Regions from separate parts of the Homo sapiens genome. Here all the other regions are linked to region 1. The links are contacts of gene promoters, found by promoter capture Hi-C in blood cells and fetal thymus (Javierre and others, 2016). All regions are on one chromosome and are shown on one strand. Each heading gives the region's core, a stretch centred on a gene start or on the middle of the fragment in contact. The rest is flanking DNA. Distances are from core to core; before and after follow the strand shown.

Region 1 (2,641 bases), core at 71-2,570:
CCTTTTTTCCCACCCTACTGCCTCATCACTTTCTGCCACCCTCTGCCACTGAGACTGATGGGGTTTTAGTCAATCGTTTCTAAGGTTAAAAGTAGGCACTGCATGTCTAGACTCTAGACAAGGATCAATTACAAGGATAGGCAGCAATCTTAAGGGTTTGAGCGCTGGAGTGTCCTGATCGGGTTTGGGCGTTTTCACAGATGAAGCTCCCTTGATCAAGAGTGGCAAAGGGACACAGCAACAAGTTGTTGCAGTAATCTGGGGATAAAGGAAGGTGATCTGGACTAGGCTGGTAGAAATAGGGGACTAAGGCTGTTTTTGGGATGCCTATTTAGGATTGGGTGCTTGCTTGAATGAAGATTGATTAGCTGTTTTAAATACCTCTCACAGGATAAAAGAAATTGATTTTTTTTTTTTTTGAGACAGAGTCTTGCTCTGTCGCCCAGGCTGGAGTGCAGTGGCGCAATCTCGGCTCACTGCAACCTCTGCCTCCCGGGTTCAAGCGACTCTCCTGCCTCAGCCTCCTGCGTAGCTGGGACTACAGGCCCGGCTACTTTTCTCATTTTTAGTAGACACAGGGTTTCACTGTGTTGCCTAGGCTGGTCTCGAACTCCTGACCTTGTGATCTGCCCGCCTCGGCCTACCAAAGTGCTCGGATTACACGCATGAGCCACCACGCCCGGCCTGAAATTTTTTTTTTTTTTTAAAGAAATGAGTAAGTTTTTTAATAGTTTTTAAAGCGCTACCTAGGTTTAGCTGGGATACCGCATAATTTCATTCTTCTTTTACTTATTAATAACCATTTTAAAAACTGCAAGATCCTATCAATTTGTCTGATTTACTGATTCCCCTATCCCAAAGTGGAGCGCAAAATTTTTACTTTTTCAACATAAAAGTTAGTTTAAAATACTTTTTCTGAAGAAAAAAAGAAAGAAATCCGCATTCCCCACAGTCACTGGACAGGAATCTCGGCGTGGAGACACCCGTTCAATTTCCAGGGGTCTACCTTCCCCTACCCGGGTTCCCGCCGCTCCTCAGCGCCCAGACGCACCTCCTAGTCCCGCCCCCATGCTTCTTCCAGCCTTCCTCCTTCTTCTCCCACTGCCTCCGCCCATTCCCTCGCCCACCCGGGAAGCTCCGCCCCCTCCAGCTCCGCAACCCAACTCCTTCTGTCCTGCTGTCGCTTTCCTCTTTCCCGCCCCCATGGCTGCCTTCGATTGGCTAAACCTGCTGGGCCGCGGCGGGGATGCGGCGCAGCCGCATTCTGATTGGCTAGACTTAGGCCTGGACCCTAGTGATTGGCTGATAGGAGGAGCCAGCAAGTGTGGCTGAGCTCCGGGGTGTGTGGACGCCGCTTTGTTGCCTGAGGTGGGTGGCGGTGGAAGTTAAGGGAGTCAGGGGCTATCGCTCCTCGAGACTCGCAGTCGCGGCCACTGCAGTCACTTCGCCAGTTAGCCCTTAGGGTAGGAGTCGCGCCGGCAGCAGCCATGAGCGGCGGCGTGTACGGGGGAGGTGAGTGAGTGCGGCCGGACGAGAGAGCGCGCCTTTTCGGCGTGTGGGGTTTGTAACCGCCGCTCCCAGCCCTCCCCTCCCCGGCGTTCCCTTCCGGTCTCCCCCTCTCGGGACCCCGGCCTCCCCGCCCCGTCCCCGCCCCACGCTCTGCCCGCCCCCGGAGCCCACCCGGCTCGCCGTGCTCCTCGGGCTCCCTGAAGTGGCGGCTCTCTGTGGCCTCTTCCTGCCTCTGTCCCCGGAGGAGCAGGGTTTTGGGGTGCGCGCTCGGTTCTCTAGGGAGCCTCGGGGCTGGGCGGGAGGCTCAGTCTAGCCGGCCGCCGGGCCCCGGCTTGGGTGACCGCCCCAGGGTCGCATCTCCCCGAGTGCCTCCTGGACTCAGCTGTGTCGGGACGCGTGTGCGCCCGCCTAAACTTGGAAGGTCCCGGCGGTTTGCAAGCGTGGACGGAGGGTTCCCAGAGTGTCCCATAGGTGGCAAAGCGAGCCTCAAGCCGTAGAACTGACTAGGGAAGCGGCGGCCACTTAGGGTACTGCCTCCTCCCCGTCTGCGCCCCATGCGCGAGCTGCCTCACCTTTCAGTAACTCTTGCCTGTTTTTTGGCTGCGGAGTCTCCAGAGTGACTCGTGGGCGGGTCTGTTTGAGATCAATTCAGGAGCACGTGTAATTTAAGGATGCCCAGAAAGTTTGCTGGGGGTCCTAGGCGTGTTATTTTTTCACTTTCTTTGATTAGACTGTGGTGTGGTAGGAAGATTACCAGGTGCCGGGGGTTACAGACCTGGGTTGAAATATCCACCTCACTCTTTATTAAGCGCTTTGGTCTTGGGCAGTTTATGTAACTTTCCAACTTCAGGCCTCATTTATGGAATAATTCCTAGCCGATGGGGGTGGGCATGAAGGTTAAATGAAATAATGCTGCATTTGCCACTTAAAGTCTGGCCCATGGACCAGCAGTGTCAGCATCACCTGCAAGCCTGTTAGAAATGCAGGATCTCACGCGTCATTCAGAATCTACTGATTTAGAGCCTCCATTTTTGCAAGATCTGCAGGTTAATCGAAACACTGATACATATAATTCATGTGTTGGGTTGTGTTTGATGAGTTAGAGACCCAGAAAACAAATCCAGACTATTGC
Region 2 (2,641 bases), core at 61-2,560, 200 kb before region 1:
CTATGTAATTTTAACCTGTTTTAATAATGACATTTCTTCTAATGACATTTCTTCCATATGACTAAGTGATACACATTTATTTCAGTAGAATCAGAAAATACAAATAGGCAAAAAGAACAGAGACTCCAGAACTTATATACTTCACAAAATCAGTATCAGGAGTTGCTTAGAATTCTGTTGCTGGAGTTCTTTTTGAGGGAACCATTTTTTTTCTACTTGGAAATTTAAAAATTCAGGTTCTCAAGATTGCTCAGAAGGTTTTATTTCAGAGTTTTACCTTTTATATACCTGTTTTGCTAAAATAAATGTACCACAATGTTTTTAATTTTTATTGAATTTTATTACAAGTGGAGTTTATTTTTTTCTTTTCCTCCTGCTTTAGACAGTTAATCAACTGGCCCATGCCCTTCACATGGACAAAGATTTGAAAGCTGGCTGTCTTGTACGTGTGTTTTGGCCAAAAGCAAAATGTGCCCTCTTGAGAGATGACCTGGTGTTAGTAGACAGGTAAAATTACATGTGGATTGCATTTTCTCTGGAAGTTTATTTAATAGTATAATACTGCTTACTTTAGCATATGGTATAAAAAATTACAACATTCAGTTGCCATTTTGTTCTCATTAGCTAGATTAAGGAAGAGATATGGTATTGGTTTTATTTTATAAGTTACATAAAAGCACCAATTCATCACTCTGATTCCATTTCAAGAAATTTTAAGGATGGCCACTTTTTTTGGCCAGAGTGCAGTGCCGCAGTGCCACGATCTTGGCTCACTGCAACCTTCGCCTGCCGGGTACAAGTGATTCTCCCACCTCAGTCTCCTGGGTAGCTGGGATTACAGACACACACCAGCCACCTCACCTGGCTCCATTTTGTTTTTGATAATGGATTTTCCTTTTAAATGGAAATGAGTGTTTCAAGTAATCCATAGAAACAGAGGAGAGAGAAGATGTTCATGACACCAAGATATTTGGTTTAAATACAATGTTAACTAGTTTAGCTTTATTTCATAGCCAGATTGTATCTATGACCCAGTCAGTCAAGATTGACAGTTGGATAGATACAAGAAAATATGAATGAGATCTAGTATTTGGTACCAAAATGGGTAACGGTAGTGAAAAATAATTGATTTTTATTTATTTTTTTGAGACAGAGTCTCACTCTGTCACCTAGGCTGGAGTACAGTGGCGCAGTGTCAGCTTGCTGCAACCTCCCCCTCCGGGGTTCAAGCCATTCTTGTGCCTCAGCCTCCTGAGTAGCCACCACGCCTGGCTAATCTTTGTATTTTTTGGTAGAGACGGGGATTCACCATGTTGGCCAGGCTGGTCTCAAACTCCTGGCTTCAAGTAATCCCCCCATCTCAGCCTCCCAAAGTGCTGAAATGACAGGTGTGAGCTGCCGTACCTGGCTGAATAACAATTTAATTGTACATTTAAAAATAACTAAAAGAATATAATTGTATTGTTTGTAATACAAAGAATAAATGCTTGAGGTGATAGATACCTCGTTTACCACGTGATTTTTTTTTTTTTCGGAGGCAGGGTCTTGCTGTGTTGCCCAGTCTGGAGTGCAGTGGTGGGATCATGGCTTATTGCAAACTCCGCTTCCCAGTCTTAAGCAACCCTTCCACCTCAGCCACCAGAGTAGCTGGGGCTACAGGGGCATGCCACCAAGCCTAGCTAATTTTTTTTTTGTGTATGTGGAGTCAGGGTTTTGTCATGTTGCTCAGGCTGGTCTCAAAGTCCTGGACTCAAACTCCCGCCTTGGCATCCCAAAATGCTAGGATTATAGGAATATGCCACTGCACTCAGCCCCTGATGTGATTATTACACATTGTATGCTTGTATCAAAATACTTCATATACCTCATAAATATGTATACTTAATTAATATATACCCATAAAAATTTTAAATGAATAAATTTTTTAACTTTTTACAAATATTTATTGTTGGCAAATTCTTCACTGCAGCTCCTAGTACAGTTGGTATATTAAATTTATATTTTTTTATTTGTGTTTATAAGTGCTTAAATCATCTCTGAGCCATACTGGATATAGCTGCTTGAACCCTCATTGTTTAGTATCTATTAGCCTAGTTTTATATTTCAGCCATCTAAAGCATAAACATTAAAAAGATTGAAATATTGAGCATGTTATTTGCTTTGTCAAAGATCACTAAGTTAAAATTTCCTAGACTTCTTACAGATGACAGCTGGAAATCCTGGTTTTTAAACTTCAAATTATATATAAAAGCTGAAAAAATTCTGTAACCCAAATTTTCTTTTTAAGAAATATAATACAATTTTTATTTCACTCTCATTAGTCCAGGCACAGATGTCACTACAGAGCTGGATAGCTGGATTGATAAGTTTTGCCTAGATGCTGATGTCTTTGTTTTGGTCGCAAACTCTGAATCAACACTAATGAATACGGTAGGATTTAATCATATTATTGTGTTTCGATGGTAGGAAATGAAATGGTATCTGTTTTAATTCTGAAAAGCAAGGGAAATCCATATCGTGGATTAGAAAAAACTTCTAAAAACAGGCATGAATGAAGGGGTTTGTGTTTTCATAGAACCAGAAGGGCTGTTTCTAGTCTTTCTATAGTGTGTAGTTCCCTGGATTTCTCTAGCAGTATAGG
Region 3 (2,641 bases), core at 106-2,605, 180 kb before region 1:
ACACCATATATGACCTAAAAGAAAGAACAACTTTCCTAAAGTTGTTCTTTAGGACTAAACTGTTGAAGTTCCATGCTAAAAATGATGACAGAAGTTAATGAAAAAAACAAAAACACTGCAGAAAGTTAAAAACGAAGATCTTGATCATGCATTGAAAGAGTGGATCCATCAGCATTGCAGTGAACACGTGCCACTTAAGGACATGCTGATCATGAAATAAACATCTATTAAAATGAACTGAAAATCGAAGGGAACTGTGAGTATTCAATAGGCTGGTTAGAGAAATTTAAGGTAAGATAGCATTAACTTTTCTAAAGGTTTGTGGTGTTAAAGCATCTTGATCACAAAACAGCAGAGAAATTCATTGATGAATTTGCCAAGATTGTCTCTGATGAAAATCTGACTCCAGAACAAGTCTATAATGCTGATGAAACATCACTGTTTTGCCATTATTGACCCAGAAAGACACTGACTACAGCTGAGGAGACAGCCCCTACAAGAATAAAGGATGCAAAGAACAGAATAACTGTGCTGGGATGTGCTAATGCAGCAGGCATAAATGTGAACTTACTGTGATAGGCAAAAGCTTGCATCCTCACTGTTTTCAAGGAATGCATTTTTTTTACTAGTCCATTATTGTACTAACAAAAAGGCATGGATCCCTAGGGACATCTTTTCTGATTGGTTTCACAAACATTTTATACCAGCTTGTGTGCACTTGCAGGGAAGCTAGGCCGGATGATGACTGCAAGATTTTGTTATTCCTTGACAACTATTCTGCTCATCGTCTAGCTGAAATTCTTATTAAAAAAAGTGTTTCATTATTTCAACCTTGTGACCAGGGTATTCTACGATCAATGAAGAGTAAATACAAAAACCTTTTTTGGGCAGCATGCTAGCAGCAGTGAACTGAGGCCTGGGTGTGGAAGGTTTTCAGAAGGAGTTTAGAATGAAAGATGCCATAGATGCTTTTGCCAGCACAAGGAGTTTAGGATGAAGGATGCCATATATGCCAGCACTTGGAAGACAGTGACTCAGTTGTGTATGCCTGCAGCCTCTGCCTGTCACTACATTTATTGATGATGAGGAGCAAATTGGTGACTTTGAAGTATGTCAAGTGAGCTCCTTATGCAAAAAATAATATCTTCAGAGTCCATCCGTAAGCTGGAAGAAGGATATATCAAAGAAGTGTTTGACATTGATAATGAGGTTTCAGTTGTTCATTCATTAACTGATGGCAAAATAGCTAAAATGCTTCTAAATCAAGGTGATTATGATAATGGTGATAATGAAGATGATTTCATTGACCTCGCAGAACAACTGCCTATAGGCAGCATGGTGATGGGCTTATTGAAGCACTAGAGCAGCATGTATTCATAACAGAACAAGAAATAGGTTTATAAAATCAAGGAGAGACTTCAACAAAAACCATTGTTAAAGAGGCAAGTAGGTGGTACTGCAGGAAACATTTTAAAAGGCCATTCAGCACAATGTCTTATTATGCCGAGAGGACCCACTTCTTGGTCCCTCAACTGCTTCTGATGTTTCTTCTCACCTAACAAAGTACTGTGTACCGGAACTTTTTAATCAAAACATAACATTGTAGGTAGAGACTGAAAGCCTGCCATTGTTGCTGTTTAACAGCTGATACAGGTGTTCTGGTGATGCCACTGTGCTGCTTAGTTTGAATACGTTATTTTTCACTGTTATTAATGGTGTGTCTTATATTTTTACTATTAAGTTCCTTTGTGTGAATCCGTGTAAGAAAATGATTGCTTGTCAGTAGTATGTAAATTCAATCAAGAATGATGGTGATGCCAAACAACCATAGAGTGTTCACATGGGTGGCTGACATAGCAACACCTGTGTTTTCTGATAAGTCAGTGTACACAACCTTTGTTTCATGCACAAAATTATTTAAATATTGGATAAAATTACCTTCAGGCTATGCATATAAGGTATATGAAGCATAAATGAATTTTGTGTTTGGACTTGGGTCCCATCCTCAAGATAGCTCATTATATCTATGAAATATTCAAAAATCCTAAAAAATCTGAAATCTGAAACACTTCTGGTCCCAAGCATTTTGGATAAGGGACACTCAACCTGTAGTATGCTTAAGGGAAAGCTTATCCTAAAGCTTTCGTCCAATACTGTTGCAGGTGGTGCTACATTCATTTTTGAAACATTTCTGTTTTCTTAAAAGATTTGGTTTTCACATTTCAAATAAACTAGCATAAATACAAGCATTTTTTTAATTTTTTTTTATTATACTTTTAAGTTCTAGGGTACATGTACACAACGTGCAGGTTTGTTACATATGTATACATGTGCCATGTTAGTGTGCTGCACCCATTAACTCATCATTTACATTAGGTATATCTCCTAATGCTATCCCTCCTCCTTCCTCCCATCCCACAACAGGCCCCGGGGTGTGATGTTCCCCTTCCTGTGTCCAAGTGTTCTCATTGTTCAATTCCCACCTATGAGTGAGAACATGCAGTGTTTGGTTTTTTGTCCTTGCAATAGTTTGCTGAGAATGATGGTTTCCAGCTTCATCGATGTCCCTACAAAGGACATGAACTCATCATTTTTTATGGCTGCATAGTATTCCATGGTGTATATGTGCCACATTTTCTTA
Region 4 (2,641 bases), core at 71-2,570, 160 kb before region 1:
CTGCCTCCCGGGTTCAGGCGAATCTCCTGCCTCAGCCTCCCGAGTAGCTGGGATTACAGGAATGTGCCACCACGCCCGGCTAATGTTTGTATTTTTAGAAGAGATGGGGTTTCACCATGTTGGGTAGGCTGGTCGCGAACTCCTGACCTCAAGTGATCTGCCCACCTTGGCCTCCCAAATTGCTGGGATTATAGGTGTAAGCCACTCTGCCCAGCCAAAAAGTTAATAGAAATCTTAATCAAAATATAAATATACATTCATAACTGCCATCTACAATATTCTGTTTTGGTCCTATATCTTAATTTGCCTTTATCCACTTTATTATTCTAATTGTCAACTGATTTTAATAAAACTGATACATCTTTACAGTTGATGCACATATTAGCACATTCACAACATAAAAACAAAAATTTAGAGGTAAAGTTTGGGAGTATTTAGGTTAAGTTACACATGTTCAAAAGTTAACACAGACCTATCTGAAAAGTAACTAAGTTACAAAACAATGCACGTCTATATATCAGAATAATCCAAGACTTTACCATCAAGCAAGACTAACAATCTTCTATTATCAGTCATTTAGACTTATTTGTAAAAGAGAATCCAACAGGAAAAGTATCTTTAACTTGGTCGTGGGGGACTTCTAGTAAGAGACACATTATTATACCACAGAAAAACTGTTTAATATAGCTCTCTAACTCCTTTAAGAACTGCTTTAGGAATTTTTATTTTGGCTTTAAGTGGAATCACTTACATCTAGACATCCTTTGAAGCAAAACCACTTAGAAACCAGTATTTTGTGCTAAGGAAGGGAAGAAATACTACAAAATGTTGCAAAACAGAACAAAAAGCTTAAAGGTTTAAGAAATTTAAAGGCACAGATATTTCACATCAATTCAGATTTTATAGTATGCAAACATGAAATAAACCACCGTATTACAACAAATATGTGCTAGCGATTGGTTAGATTTCACACTTCTCTCCAAATGTAACACTGTCACATTGCATTTCCTCTCTAGATGTATACTGATAGCACTGGGAAAGATGTTCAGATGCAGGGACAATCCCAATGTTTACCAAACTTCTGAAAGATGAGTATACGCTACAAACTTAGTTCCAAATATGAAATGAAAAGGAAAGTCCAGCTATTTAGGGGGGTACTCAAAGTGTCAACTGATCATAACCAGGCTTTTAAAATGTCAAGAACCATTTATATGCTATTACCTACTTTTTATTAATTATAATGATGTTTCTTATGTATGTCCAAAATATCAGTGAAATCTCTAATCTCTGGCCTTCAGATTATCTGTCCCCTCAAAGGACTGAAAGCAAGCACTTTGATTAATAGTATATGGCAAATGATGCATGAGAAACAATGAACTCCCCTCAGAGGTGCCCCACCTGTCAATGCTCTTAAACATGAAGCTATCAGGATCTCTTAGATTCAAAGAGATATCAGAATTCAAGGGGACTTTCTTCAGACATAAATACACACACATACAGTATCATTTCTGTCTGTTTCTGTGCCTGGTTCTTCCATTACAAAACTCAAAAATATGACATTTCTTGTGTATACAAAGTTAAAAATGTACTTCTTAAAAAATGCAAACACAATGGCGAGCTGCTATAATGTGTACATTCTGTTCTACACAAAGAAAATACACTCTGAGTACACACAACAATTCACCAAGGTTAAAATAACCCAACCCCTCAAATTAATACACTGGTCCTTTTGATCTCAGAAGGCGCCTTTGCCTTTTTTCCTCCACCCCCACTTTTTTTTTGGTAGTTTACTGAAAGCTTGTTTTTGTAGATAATCTAATAGAAAAATCTTCACCTGCAAATATAAGGTAGAATTTTTTCACAGCTATAGGCTGTAGCATTGATTTCTCCAGATATATCAATGGAGAACAAATATGTATGACACTGTTAATTCCAGATTCTAAGAAAACTGTCCCAAGAGCCTGTTGCCACAGCCATGCCATCATCAGTTACACCTAAGCAGCTCACACGGTTGTCATGACCAGCAAGGACACCTGAAAAAAAAATTCAGTAAAAAATTGGCAATTGTAGGGTTTTAGAATTAAACAAGTATATGCAGAGATTTAAAAGGGTGCTTATAAACTATCAGTCCAGTTTTCTTGAAAGTTCATCAGTTAAAAAATAATAATAATTTAAAAGAAAACAACAAATTTCTCTGAGTAAGAAGACAAGTTAGGAGTAAGCTGGATGTATTTATAAATTTGGATTATTTGAATTTTGACATGCATCAATTTGTGGTTTTAATTTTTGAAAAATCATCTTATAATTCAACTTATATCTAGGAAAACATATGCAGACAATTATTCCACATCTCTAATAAGTTCTCGATATTCCAAATTTTGCTACTGAGCTATGTATGCTATTCTCAACAAAAACAAGATTTTCAATGAAGTTCACTGAAGGAGCCCTTCACCACAGGAACGACAAAAACGTAAGAACAAAGCTGCCTCACATCACTGCTTCCAAGAATACCAACATAATTCATTTACTTTCTTATGCTAATCACCAAACTCTGGAATGTTATTGGTTATAACTTTCTGAAACCATGAAACTCATCTAGTTTTCATTTCTTTCACACATTAAACTCATTTGATGTATTTCC
Region 5 (2,641 bases), core at 69-2,568, 140 kb before region 1:
AAGCCTAACAACCATATTTCATCCAATCTAAAAACACCAATTGAGAGCCTGAGAATATGACAATACTAGAGGTACAACGCAGGATACATCGCCTGCTCTTGAGGCCTCTACCATCTGGTGAAGATAAGACATTTACTCATATTTATATTAAATCAAGTAAGTAAAAACTGTCAGAAGAGGGGTATAAAATAAATGCCACAGGAGAGTAAAGGAGGAACAATGGCTAGATGAGTTAATCACAAGAGAATGAGTCTTGAAAGAAAATGTTGAGAGCTAAAGATACAGAAAAGGCTGTATTTTAGGAGAAAGCTATGTAAGATCAATGACAGGTAGAAAAATACACTGAGTGTTGTTTCAGGAATTGTGGGTCTTCCAGTAGTACAGTTTGTGAGAAAATGGAAAAATAAGTTGAGAAAAGCAGACTGGGCTTAAACTGCAGAAAGCTTTGTTAAACTAAAGAGTATGAACTCCTAAGTAATTTTAGCCACTAAATTTTTTGTTTTGTTTGGATTTTTTTTTTTTTTTTGAGACAGACACTCACTGTGACACCCAGGTTAGAGTGCAATGGCACGATCTCAGCCCACTGCAACCTCCGCCTCTCAGGTTCAAGTGATTCTCCTGCCTCAGCCTCCCGAATAGCTGGCATAACAGGTGTGCACCACCACGACTGGTAAGATGGGATCTCAACATGTTGGTCAGGCTGGTCTTGAACTCTTGACCTCAAGTGATCCACTCGCTTGGCCTCCCAAAGTTCTGGGATTACAGGCATGAGCCACCATGCCCAGCCTTGTTTGGAATTTTTACTTTTCACCATGGTGTAAAATTCAAAAAATAAAAAAGGATATACAGAAGAAAATTTAAAAAGCACCTTCCTGGGCCTATCATCAGCCACCCAGTTCCTTTCCCTAGAGGTAAATAACATTATCAGATTCTTGGGTAGCAATCACTACAAGGTTTTACAAAAGGGAAGATCTATCTGATAGTGGGGTATAGGATGGCATCTAAAGAAAATTCTTTAGAAATCAATTGGCATCATCAGCATAAGAGTTGAGGAGAACATTAAGTAATGGATTGATAACACGGATGGGTGGGAAGACTATGTGAGATAGGTTCCTGGATGATGGTTTCATTTTTCTATGAAGATTAACAGTCTTCAGAAAACGTTTAAGGAAAGCAAGAACCATAAACATTGTTTCAAGTTACTATATTTTAAGTTAAAATTTTGCTTTATCAACAGGTAAATTATTTTTATCTTCAACTCCTTTAAGAAAAAGAATAAGACATTCGGCCAGGCGCGGTGGCTCACACCTGATTAATCCCAGCACTTTGGGAGGCTGAGGCGGTTGGATCACCTGAGGTCAGGAGTTCAAGACCAGGCTGGCTAACATGGTGAAACCCCCTCTCTACTAAAAATACAAAAATTAGTCAGGCGTGGTTGTGGATGTCTGTAATCCCAGCTACTTGGGAGGCTGAAGCAGGAAAATCCCTTGAACCTGGGAGGCAGAGGTTGCAGTGAGCCGATACCACACCATTGTACTCCAGCCTGGGCAACAAGAGTGAAACTCTGTCTCAAAAAAAAAAAAAAAAAAGAAAAAAGAAAAGAAAAAGAAAAAGATTAAGACATTATGTCAGTTGCCAATTATATAATTTTATGTATCCCTTCGTAAGAGGCACATGTTCTATATTATTGTGGTCAAGTATCCCAATTAGAGCAACAATTGAGGCTTCTTCTACTTTATAATTTTAGTGTCTCCTGGGAGAAGAGAATAAATGTGCAACTTCTATTAAAACATAGAAGTTTCTTGGTTTAGGCATTTCCCATTAAGATTAACCAAATCAAAGGAACAAGTAAACCACTGTGATAGCAGACACATCTGCTATTGCCAGACAATGGAAAAACATAGGCTGTGCTGTAGCCTTATACACATAGTGAATGACAGTGATGAGCAATCTATCTAACTGTAGGCCACGTAGCAGCTGTGCGTGTGCCTGTGCACCTGCAGATGGTCAGCTTGCACATTCAAGCACACACCTTTCTGTGATGCAGTCGAGGGAGTAAAAGATGTATTCAGTACAAACACCTTTGTTTCATGTAATTTCCATTATTTGCGAATTTATGTAATAACAAACTATAGCAATATCCAAAAACTTGCACATAGGTGTTCAATACGTATTTGCTTATGAACTGAAATTTCAAGCTTCATATACAGTAAAAACGCTTTGTGCCTATTTAAAAAACAAAGAATGTCTGCAATGTTCCACTGCAAAGAAAAGGAATCCTCTTCTGAACAGTTGTCCTGGATTCCATATTAAAAATGTTTATACTTTTAAAGAGTCAATTAATATTCTTATTGAAAGCAGCATGTTCATCTGAGATGCATTTTCTGCAAACGCTTCATGAATATATTCTGTTTTTAAACAAAGAAAATGCAAATGATGGTTCTTAATGAAAATAATTCTGCAACAGTTTAAAAATGACAGGTAATGACAGGTACAAACCTGGAATCGTATCCCCAATGCATAGCATAGATTTTAGCTAGGTGGCCCCTCAGTGTACGTCTTGTTCGCATTTGTATTCGACCCACAGAGTCCATATTTGATGTAATCTTTTGAAAGCAACAAAAATGTTATTCTTTACCTT

What was found. The method cuts DNA at HindIII sites, captures the fragments that hold promoters and counts their contacts. A CHiCAGO score of 5 or more calls a contact.
Region 2: a fragment that was not itself captured here is called in contact with the fragment with the promoter of ACTL6A in region 1 in 2 of 17 cell types (M1 macrophages and monocytes); the score reaches 7.5 in M1 macrophages.
Region 3: a fragment that was not itself captured here is called in contact with the fragment with the promoter of ACTL6A in region 1 in 4 of 17 cell types (M2 macrophages, M1 macrophages, M0 macrophages and 1 more); the score reaches 10.3 in M2 macrophages.
Region 4: a fragment that was not itself captured here is called in contact with the fragment with the promoter of ACTL6A in region 1 in 4 of 17 cell types (M1 macrophages, total B cells, M0 macrophages and 1 more); the score reaches 7.6 in M1 macrophages.
Region 5: a fragment that was not itself captured here is called in contact with the fragment with the promoter of ACTL6A in region 1 in 6 of 17 cell types (M1 macrophages, M0 macrophages, M2 macrophages and 3 more); the score reaches 11.6 in M1 macrophages.

What each region holds. Positions count from the first base shown.
Region 1 is chr3:179,561,606-179,564,246 of GRCh38, forward strand. ACTL6A (actin like 6A) reads left to right here and starts at 1,321. Exons shown (of 14, transcript NM_004301.5): 1 at 1,321-1,512. The coding sequence starts at 1,488. RefSeq lists a silencer at 1,183-1,412. The HindIII fragment of the contact is 9,325 bases long and covers 1-2,641 here.
Region 2 is chr3:179,361,976-179,364,616 of GRCh38, forward strand. It overlaps MFN1 (mitofusin 1), which reads left to right. Exons shown (of 18, transcript NM_033540.3): 5 at 383-507; 6 at 2,322-2,430. Among named protein-coding and RNA genes, the nearest start is that of MFN1, 16 kb to the left of the region's middle. The HindIII fragment of the contact is 4,299 bases long and covers 1-2,641 here.
Region 3 is chr3:179,379,817-179,382,457 of GRCh38, forward strand. All of the region lies in intron 14 of MFN1 (mitofusin 1), which reads left to right. Among named protein-coding and RNA genes, the nearest start is that of MFN1, 33 kb to the left of the region's middle. The HindIII fragment of the contact is 1,542 bases long and covers 585-2,126 here.
Region 4 is chr3:179,399,287-179,401,927 of GRCh38, forward strand. GNB4 (G protein subunit beta 4) reads right to left here. Exons shown (of 10, transcript NM_021629.4): 10 at 1-2,033. The coding sequence ends at 1,927. Among named protein-coding and RNA genes, the nearest start is that of GNB4, 51 kb to the right of the region's middle. The HindIII fragment of the contact is 949 bases long and covers 847-1,795 here.
Region 5 is chr3:179,416,900-179,419,540 of GRCh38, forward strand. It overlaps GNB4 (G protein subunit beta 4), which reads right to left. Exons shown (of 10, transcript NM_021629.4): 4 at 2,500-2,606. Among named protein-coding and RNA genes, the nearest start is that of GNB4, 33 kb to the right of the region's middle. The HindIII fragment of the contact is 1,755 bases long and covers 442-2,196 here.